2 separate regions of the Homo sapiens genome follow, and region 2 is linked to region 1. Evidence: promoter capture Hi-C in human tissues and cell types (Jung and others, 2019). All regions are on one chromosome and are shown on one strand. Each heading gives the region's core, a stretch centred on a gene start or on the middle of the fragment in contact. The rest is flanking DNA. Distances are from core to core; before and after follow the strand shown. Region 1 holds the start of HGSNAT (heparan-alpha-glucosaminide N-acetyltransferase). Region 2 has its middle 490 kb from the start of POTEA.

Region 1 (5,208 bases), core at 776-3,275:
GTTTTTAAAAATAATAATAACAGTCTGTATCACTTACAGACACGACCAAAGGACCCAATTACTAAGCCATCAAATAAGTCATCAAATATGACCTCGAAACTGAGCTTGATGTTCAGCTTCAAGAAAAAGCTGTCACCTTCCCACACAGCAGCTGACCTAAGAAATTCCAGGGCAATACCCCCAGAGCGTTACAGACAAAAGAACAATTATTTCCTTCTCTCTCCTCTGGTCTACCTCGTCTTGGTGGGCAAATTACCAAATAAAGTCACCTTCCAATGGTGCGGGGATAAATGTGCTGCTTGTGTATTACACCTTTATTTCCTTTCCAAATATTTAATTTCTGGTCTAGCTCTCTGCTCGTGAGTTATCTTTGCTGGGCATATTTTTAAAGACATAGTCTACTTTTTTTTTTCTTCAAGCAAATGCTGAATTTTCAAAAAGAAGGAAGATGATGACGTTTTTAGTAGGAAAGCTGTGCGGCCCAAACATGGGCTCCAGGTGACAGGGAAAGCCTTGCGGTCCCAACGCGGCTTCCCCTCACTACGTGTGATTACTATTTACAAACCACCTCTCTCTAAAAGTAAGTGCCCTTTGATAAGCTAATACTGGCGCTAAAATGCAAAGAGTGTTCGGCGGGATCAGTCCCTGACAAATTGTGATCAGGCAGATTACATAACCTCCCCGGGGTCCTTGCAATTTTAAAGGAGGGGAGCGCAGGAGATGAAGGTTGGGTGGATCAAGGATCGCACAAAATGTAATCCTCTGAGCCGCTTTTCCAAAATTCACAACGCCTTTCTCCTCCAGCTTCTGCTTGGAGAGGAGGGGTCGTTTGAACTCCATACACAGACACTAAAACTTCGTATTCTGACCAAGAAAAGGGCGCGAGAGGGGAAAGACAGGTGACTCCCACCGTCCCTCCTACCCAAAGGGGTTTGCGATGCTTGCCCGACCCCTCTGGGAGGGGCGTGTGCGAAGGACCTAGGGCCTGGGGCTCCCCGGTGCAGGGGTCTAGATGGAGACCTGGAATCTGTATTTGTCACCGTTTTCCCCACCGAGTTCGGAGAGCAAGCCAGTTGTGCAATCACGGTATGAGCTGAGCGCCTCTTAAGCCAGCGCACCGGACAAACGCCCGGGGTCCGGGGCCCGGGGCAAAAGCGCCCAGCCCGGCCCCTCCCAGGCGGCGGCGGCGGCGGCGGCGGCTTCCCAGTCACCCTGGAGGGAAAACGCGCCGAGGGGAGACGCGCGGAGGGCTCGCCCGGGACCGGGCTGCAGGCCGCGCCCCCACCGCCTTCTCCGCGGTTCCTCACCCGCCGCACATCCACGCAGGTTCAACCCCAGCGCGGGGCGAACGCGCGTCCCGGCCCCAGGCTTCCCACCCGCTGAAGCCAATGGGTCGCACGGCTCCGGCGCCACGTCCTCGGGGGCGAGGCCCTCAGGGAAGGGACCCTGCTCTAAGTCCCTCCGAACAGTGGACTGGGTGCAGGGGGAGTCCGAGCCCCCCCGATCCTCGGCTGGCCCGCCTCCTGGCTGCCAGTTTGTGGGGTCCCGGCGTCCCGATCCGCGGCCTCTGTTTAGACGGAAGGCGCCAGGACGCAGGCTCCGCTGGGGTGGGCGCCGCCTGGGCGCCCAGGTTCCACTCCGCCGCGGTCCGAACCGCCCCCTCCCCCGCCTCCGCGGGGCCCGGCCGCAGCACCCCGAAGTCCGGCCTCCGGTCTGGGGCGCGGGACCGCGAAGTCGCAGCAACAGCCCAGGCCACGGGGGCGGTTCCGGCCCGGCCTAGCGCTCGGCGCCGCGCACGGAGATAGGGGCGGCGCCGCGGAGAGGAGACGCTGCGCTCGTAGCCGGCCGGGCGGCGGTAGGAGGTGTGCACTCACCTCGTGGCGGCGCGGCCTGGGCATCGCGCCCCGAAGAGCCGCCGGGGGCCAGCAGCGCGGCGCTCAGCACGGACGCGGCCAGCAGCAGCGCGGCCAGCGCCCTGCCCGCCCCGCTCATGCCCGCCGCCCGCTCGGCCGCCCTTGCCTGCCCGCTGCGCCCCGCCCTGCGCTGCTCCGCCGCGGACGCCCGCGCGCCCGTCATCGCCCCCTCCGCTGCCGTCACCGCCGCCTGAGTCACCGCGGGAGGCGGAGGCGCCCGGGAGCCGCGGGCGGGGGAACCTAGGGGCTGGGCCGGGCCATGCTAGGCCCTGCCTTGAGGGAGCTGGCCAGGAAAGAAGCCGAGGCTCTGCGCCCCTGCGTTGGGAGTGTTTGTCTTCGGGAGGAAAAACAGCCGGAAGAGAGGCCCCTGCAGGCCAGGAGCCTTCTTCCCTCGCCCCACCTTCTCCAGCCGCATTCTGCCAAACTCCCGCCCCCGCCGGCCACCCTCCGCACGGGTGTTAGAGCCCTCGGTCCCTGTTTTGGAAAACGCCTCAATAAGCAAGACTGCAAAGTCCCTGCCCCCAAGGCGTTTATTACCCAGAGGGAGAGGCACGACTTAGAAGCCACCAAGCGGCCCCACCTCTTGAAAGAGCCCCCGGCCAGGCTGACGAAGTGGAAGGGAGCAGGTCGAGGAGTGTGCACACCCATTCTTGGCTGTATGCCGGGAGACACTATCGCAGGTATAAGGGACAGGTACAGTAATACCTATAGCAGAGGTGCTTGTAATTGCAAAACCTTGTCAACAAGCTGAATGTCCGCCAGCGAGAAAACAAACTGCCCCACAGCAGGGGAAGTGCTCTACAGCTTCCCGCATCCACATGGATAAATCTCAAAACACAAGGCTGGGGAAAATGCAAATTGCAGAATGCCTTTTTAATATATAAAGCAAAACAATAATGTATGTTGTTTAGGGACATCCATATATGTAATAAAAATACAAAGGCACACATGAAAATGTTGCGGGACTTTTCCTTAGTTCAGCTAAAGACGGTGGAGGTCCTTGTCACACGCCAGGAAAGATTAGGCTCGCAGACAATTTGAAGGGTAAGGCAGGGTTTTATTGGGTGTAAAGGAAGAAAAAGGGGAACAGGGACTCAGCAGAGCCAGAGTTCTCCTAGTTGTAGGCTTCCCACCTCACAGATTAAATCCCAGGTTCTCCCGAGGAAGAGGAGGGCCAGGCTCCTCCCAGCTGCAAACTGAGGAGCGAACTTCTGTGGCTCCACCCCAGAGCAGTGCACAGGCCAGTTGGAGTTTTACCAGGGAACCCTTCCCATCTGGCTCATTCCTCGCTCTAAAGAAGTCTATCTAACTGCCACTAGGATAAGAATAGGGACAAAGACAGATCTTAACTGCTTCCTGCTGATAGGGGGCACTGTTTCGGGAAAATGGCAATCAGATCTCCCTCAGAGGCCTATCTAAGGGTGCCCAGCAGAAGGGGCCATGGTCCGAGCTTCCAGTAGCATGACCGTTTGATGTCCTGAAGGCAAGAAGAGACAAACTGGGTTATTAAACACATATGGCCGGGCACAGTGGCTCACGCCTGTAATCCCAGCACTTTGGGAGGCCAAGGCAGGTGGATCACGAGGTCAAGAAATCGAGACCATCCTGGCCAACATGGTGAAACCCTGTCACTACTAAAAATACAAAAAATTAGCCGGGCGTCATGGCAAGTACCTGTAGTCCCAGCTACTTGGGAGGCTGAGGCAGGAGAATCACTTGAATCCGGGAGGCAGAGTTTGCAGTGAGCCAAGATTATGCCACTGCACTCCAGCCTGGCAGGTCAGGAGTTCAAGACCAGCCTGGCCAACATGGTGAAACCCTGTCTCTACTAAAAATACAAAAATTAGCCAGCAGTGGTGGTGCCTGCCTGTACTCCCAGCTACTTAGGAGGTTGAGGCAGGAGAATCGTTTGAACGGAGGTTGCAGTGAGCCAAGACCACATCACTGCACTCCAGCCTGGGCGACAGAGTGAGACCCTGTCTCAAAAAAAAAAAGAAAAGAAAAGAAACAAGGGGAGGGATAAGGACAGCTCAAAAATCCTGAGGCTTTTTACCAATTTGTACACGGAGAAGGGGGCCAAAAGTCCGAATGGTAAACAACTTTACCCTTTTGCTGGCATGTTGGGCTTCTGGGTTCCCTTCCCCTGAAACCAATCCTAAGCCAGCCAGTTTAAGGTTTAGGAAATTAACTCTTTCCAGTTTGGAAAATGCATCTGAGGGGAGTGTCCCATAGTATGGAGACACAATTAGGATTGTCATTGTGAACCGAGGAGGAGAAAGGAAAAAAGAAGGCATTTTTTCAAAGGAATCCGAAGGGTTCCAGATGCATTTGAAAGTGGTGCAGACTGAAGATAAATGGCTACCCACATAGAAAGAGGGGAGCAGGCATCCCTGGTTCTTTTCCTAGCAAATACCTGGGGTACGTGAGGGATAGAAGGAATAGCGTCCTCTTCCATCCTTGCATCCCCATGCAACCTTCGAAAGTGCTACCATGGGTGCCAAAATGGCTTGCATCCATGAAGCAGGGGTCTAGAGGGTGGGAATTATCTCCTCTACCCATGAATGCCCTATCACCCCTGCTGTCAGTAGTCTTGGAGTTCCCTAGACCTCACTTATGCTCAGGGGTTGAGGGGTTGCATGGACTCCTTCTCGTAAGCCAAATGCTAAGGAAAAACTGTGGAACTGAGTCCTCCAACAAGGGAGAGAAAAGGATGTCTTGTGACACACCCAGATAACTGGTGGCTACAGTTATGTTTGGTAGGATTTGGGTGCATGGTGCTTGGCTTTGGTTAGCTCCCTTGGTCTTACTTTCCCAAAAGGAAACCTCTGGATGATGGGCACCCTATTTATTCCCATTGCCTAGCAGAATTTGCAGGATAATTGCTCATAACTAGAATACTAATCCAGATTTTTTTACATTACCCATCCCTCTTGTTCTTTCTGAGCTGCAGCTGGAGATTGCTGGTTGGTTCACAAGCAGGGTCAGTCTAAAAATGCAGGCAAAAATTTAAAAACAACTGAGTTTAGAATTGAATGACAAATTATGGTAAGTTTTGGAACATAATTTTTCTCCAGGCCTCGTTTTTGTTAAAAAAAAAAAAAAGAAAAGAAAGAAAAGAAAAGAAATTATGATAGGACTCAGTTGTTTGCAAAATAGACTTCAGTCTTATACTTGGCCTGATTATTTACATAAAGTGCAGCAAGAATAATTATTTCTACAAAGGCCTTTTGGACTGGCTTTGATGGAACTCTGTTCCACAAGGAATCTCAGATAAGATAAAGCCAAGCCCAGCCAT
Region 2 (5,208 bases), core at 557-3,056, 640 kb before region 1:
AAATCTCACTGGGCTCCAAAATGTCTCTCTGCAGATTCTCCAAAGAGTGTTTCCAACCTGCTGAATCAAAAGAAAGGGTTAGTTCTTTGAGATGAATCCACAAATCACAAAGCAGTTACACAGATAGCCTCTTTCTAATTTTCTTCTGGGTATATTCTGTTTTTCCCCATAGGCGACAATGGGCTCCAGAATGTTTCTTCGCAGATTCTCCAAAAAGAGTGTTTCCAACATTCTGAATCAAAAGAAAGGTTGAACTCTGTGAGATAAATCCACATATCACAAAGCAGTTTCACAGATAGTTTCTTTCTAGTTTTTTCTGGGGATATTCAGTTTTGTGCCATAGGCCTCAATTGGCTCTCAACTGTCCCTTCAGAGATTCTCCAAAAAAAGTCTTTCCAACGTGCTGAATTGAAAGAAAGTTTTAACTTTGTGAGATGAATCTAAAAATCACAAATCAGTTTCTCATATAGCTTCTTTCTACTTCTTATCTGGCGACATTCATTTTATTTTCATAGACCTCAGTGGACTAGAGACTGTCTCTTGACATACAATCAGAAGGGTGTTTCCAACCTGCTGATGCAAAAAACAGTTTTAACTCTGTGATTTGAATTCACACATCACAAATCAGTTTCACAAATAGCTTCTATCTAGCTTTTATATGGAGATATTTGGTTTTTCTCTATAGTCCTCAATGGGCGCCCAAGTATCTCTTCACATATTCTACCAAAAGAGTGCTTCCAACCTGCTGAATCAAAACGGAGGTTTAGCTCTGTGAGATGAACCCACACAATACAAAGCAGTTTCACAGATAGCTTCTTTCTAGTTTTTATCTTGGGATATTCTGTTGTTCCAAGTAGGCCTTGTTGGTTGCTTAAACGTCCCTTACAGATCCTCCAAAAAGAGTGGTTCCAAGCTGGTGAATCAAAAGAGAGTTTTAACTCTCTAAGATGAATCCACACATTGCAAAGCAGTTTCACAGGTAGCTTCTTTCTATTTTTATCTGGGGATATTCAGTTTTTCACCTAGGCCCTGATGGACTCCCAAATGTCCCTTCACAAATTCTGTAAAAAGTGTGTTTCCACCCTGCTGAATGAAAAGAAATGTTTAACTCTGTAATGGGAGTCCACACATAACAAAGCAGATTCATGGATAGCTTCTTTCTAGTTTTATCTGTGATATTTTGTTTTCCACCATAGGCCTCAATGGAAGATTTAACTCTGTGAGAGGAATCCACATGGAACAAAGCAGTTTCACACATAACTTCTTTCTAGTTTTCATCTGTGGACATTCGATTATTCCCCTTAGCTCTCAATGGGCTCCCAAATGTGCCTTCGGAGATTCTCCAAAAAATGTGTTTCCAACCTGCTGAATCAAAAGAAAGGTTTAACTCTGTGAGATAAATCCACATATCACAAAACAGCTTCACAGATAGCTTCTTTCTAGTTTTTATCTGGGGATATTTCCTTTTTATCCATATACCTCAATGTGCTTCCAAATGTCCTTTCACACATTCTCCAAAAAGAGTGTTTGCAACCTGCTGAATCACAAGAAAGGTTTAACTCTGTGAGAAGAATCACCACATCACAAAGCAGTTTCAGAGATAGTTTCTTTCTAGTTTTGCTTTGGGAATATTCTTTTTTTTTCACATAGGGCTAATTAGCTCTGAAATGTCCCTTTGCAGATTCTCAAAAATAGGATTACCACTCTGCTGAATCAAAACAAAGTTTTAATTCTGTGTGATGTATCCACACATCAAAAAGCAGTTTCAAAGAAAGCTTCTTTCTAGTTTTTATCTTAGGATATTCAGTTTTTCTCCTCGGCTTCAATGGGCTTCCAAATGTCCCTTCACATGGCTTCCAAATGTCTGTGCTTCCAAGCTCTGAATCAAAGGAAAGTTTTAATTCTGTTAGACGAATCCACACCTACAAAAGCAGTTTCACAGATAACTACGTTCTAGCTTTTTTCAGGGGATATACACTTTTTCCCCTTTGACCTCAATGGCAAGTAAATGTCCCTTCACAGATTTTCCAATAAGAGTGTTTCCAACCTACTGAATCAAAAGAAAACTTTAACTCTGTGAGAGGAATCCCCTCACAAAAGCAGTTTCACAGATACCTCTTTTAACTTTTATCTGGGGGTATTTGGTTTTTCCCCATAGGCATTTGATGGGTTCCCAAATATCTCTTCTCAGATTCTGCAAAAAGAGTGTTTCCAACCTACTTATTCAAAACTAAGGTTTAATTCTGTGAGATGAATACAAATATCACAACGTCGTTTCAGTCAGTTTCTTTCTACTTTTTATCTTGGGATATTCAGGTTTCTCCATAGACCACAGTGGATTTTAAAATGTCCTTTCACAGTTCTCCAAAAAGAGTATTTCCAACTTACTGACTCAAAAGAAAGATTTAACTTTTTGAAATAATTCCATACTTGAAACAACAGTTTCACAGATAGCTTCTTTGTAGTTTTTATCTCAGGATATTCAGTTTCTCCCTGTAGGCCTCAATGAGCTCTCAAATGTCCATTAGCAGATTCTACAAACAGAGTGTTTTCAACCTGTTGAATCAAAAGAAAAATTTAACTCTGAGATGAATCCACACATTACAAAGCAGTTTCACAAATAGCATCTTTCTAGTTTTTAATCTGGTGATATTTGGCTTTTCTCCGTGGTCTCATTGGGCTCCAAAATGTCCCTTTGCAGATTCCCCAAAAATAGTGTTTTTAACTGGTGGAATGAATAGAAAGGTTTGCCTTCAGGAGATGAATCCACACATCACAAAGCAGTTTTATGGAAAGCTTCTTTCTAGTTTTTATATAGAGATATTCCATTTTTCCCCATTAGCCTAAATGGGCTCCCAAATGTCCCCTCACAGATTTTCCAGAAAGAGAGTTTTCAAAGTGCTGAATCAAAAGAATGGTTTAACTCTGTGAGATGAATCCACACAACAGAAATCAGTTTCTCAGATAGGTTCTTTCTAGTTTTTATCTGTGGATATTCAAGTTTTTCTTATAATGCACAAATGGCTTAAATATGTCCCTTCACAGATTCTCAAAAGAAAGGCTTCACTCTTTAAGACGAATCCACACATCACAAAAGAATTTCACAGATAGCTTCTCTCTAATTTTTATCTGGGCATATTCTGTTTATCTGGGCATAACTTCAATGGTCTCCCAACTGTCCCTTCACAGTTTCTCCGTAAATAGTGTTTCCTACCTGCTGAATTAGTGGAAAAATTTAACTCTGGGATAGGAATGCACATATCACAGAGCAGTTTCACACTTTGCTTCTTTCTAGTTTTTATTTGGGGATATTCGGTTTTTCACCATAATGATCAATGGGCTACAAAATGTCTGCTTGTGTATACTCCAAAAACAGTGTTTCCACACTGCAGAATCAAAAGAAAGGTTTAATTCTGTGAGATGAATCCACACTTCAGAAGCAGTTTCACAGATAGCTTGTTTCTAGTTTTAATCTGGGGATATTCAGTTTTTTCCCATAGGCCTTAATGGGCTCTCAAATATCTTGTCACAGATTCTACAAAAAGAGTGTTTCCAACCTGCTGAATCAAAAGAAAGGTTTAGCTCTGTGAGATTAACCCACATATCACAAAGCAATTTTACAGATAGAGTCTTCCTAGCTTTTATCTGGAAATATTTGCTTTTCCCCATAGGCCTCAAAGGGCTCCCAATTGTCTCTTTGCAGATTCTCCAAAAAGAGCGTTTCCAACCTGCTGGATAAAAAAAATGGTTTAACTCTCTAAGATGAATTCAGACAAAACAAAGCAGTTTCATAGATAGGTTCTTTGTAGTTTTTATCTGGGGATATTCTGTTTTTCTTACAGGCCTCAATGGGCTACCAATTGTCCCTTTGCAGATTCTCCAAAATGTGTGTTTCAAACCTACTGGATCCAAAAAAATGTTTAATTCTCTGAGATGAATCCACACAATGCAGACCAGTTTCACAGATATCTTCTTTGTAGTTTTTATCTGTCAATATTTGCTTTTTACCTACAGGCTTCTATGGGCTTCCAAAATCTTTTCACAGGTTCTCCAAATAGAGTGTTCCAAACTGCTGGATGAAAAGAGAAGTTTAACTCAGTGAGAAGAATCCACACAACACAAAGCAGTTTCACAGATAGATTCTTTCTAGTTTTTATTGGGGATAATCTGTTGTTACTTATAGGCCTCATTGGGCTCCAAAGTATCCCTTTGTAGATTGTACTGAAAGAGTACTTACAATCTGCAATATCAAAGAAAGGCTTACCTCTGTGAGATGAATCCACACATCACAAAGTGGGTTCACAGATAGCTCTTCCTAGTTTTTATCTTTAGATATTCAGTTTTTCTCCTAGGCCTCAACGGGCTTCCAAAATCCCTTCGCAGACTCCACATAAAGAGTGTTTCCAGGCTGCTGAATGAAAAGAAAGGATTAACTCTGTGACGTGAATCCACACATTCCAAAGCAATTTCACAGATAACTTCATTCTAGTTTTTATGTGGGGATATTTTTTGTCCTTATTGGCCTCAATTTGTTCCCAAAAGTTTCCTCACATATTCTCCAAAAAGAGTGTTTCCAATCTGCTGAATCCAAAGAAGAGTTTAACTCTTTGTGGTGAAGCTACAAATCATGAAGCAGTTTCACATACAGCTTCTTTCTAGTTTTTATATGGGGACATTCCGTTTTTCCCCATAGGCTTTAATATGCTCCTAAATGTCCCTTCACAGATCTCCAATAGGAGTGTTTCCAAACTGCTGAATAAAAGGAAAGGCTTAAATCTGTGTGATGAATCCACCTGTCAGAAAGCAGTTTCACAGATACCTTCTTTCTAGTTTTCATCTAAGGATATTCTGTTTTTCTCCATAGGCCTCAATGGGTGCCCAAATGTGTATTTTTTTCTGTTTTTCCAAAAAGAGTGTTCTCATCCTGCTGAATCAAAAGAAACTTAGCTCTGTGAGATGAATCCATACATCAGAAAGCAGTTTCACATATAGCTTCTTTCTAGTTTTTATAAGTGGATATTCAGTTTTTCCCCTTAGGCCTCAATGGGCTTCCAAATGTCCCTTCTCACATTTTCCAGAAATATTGTTTCCAACCTCATGAATGCATAGAAACGCTTAAGTCTGTGAGATTAATCCACACATCACAAAGCAGTTTCACAGATGGCTTCTTTCTGGTATTTATCTGGGGATATTCGTTTCCTTTTTCCA

What was found. The method cuts DNA at HindIII sites, captures the fragments that hold promoters and counts their contacts. A contact is called where the count stands out against the background at its distance.
Region 2: a fragment that was not itself captured here is called in contact with the fragment with the promoter of HGSNAT in region 1 in 2 of the 25 tissues and cell types used here (lymphoblastoid cells and mesendoderm cells).

What each region holds. Positions count from the first base shown.
Region 1 is chr8:43,137,281-43,142,488 of GRCh38, reverse strand. It overlaps HGSNAT (heparan-alpha-glucosaminide N-acetyltransferase), which reads right to left and starts at 2,025. Exons shown (of 18, transcript NM_152419.3): 1 at 1,875-2,025. The coding sequence starts at 1,992. RefSeq lists silencers at 1,046-1,425, 1,436-2,225 and an enhancer at 3,069-3,363. The HindIII fragment of the contact is 19,681 bases long and covers 1-5,208 here.
Region 2 is chr8:43,775,590-43,780,797 of GRCh38, reverse strand. No RefSeq gene overlaps it. Among named protein-coding and RNA genes, the nearest start is that of POTEA, 490 kb to the right of the region's middle. The HindIII fragment of the contact is 5,824 bases long and covers 1-4,718 here.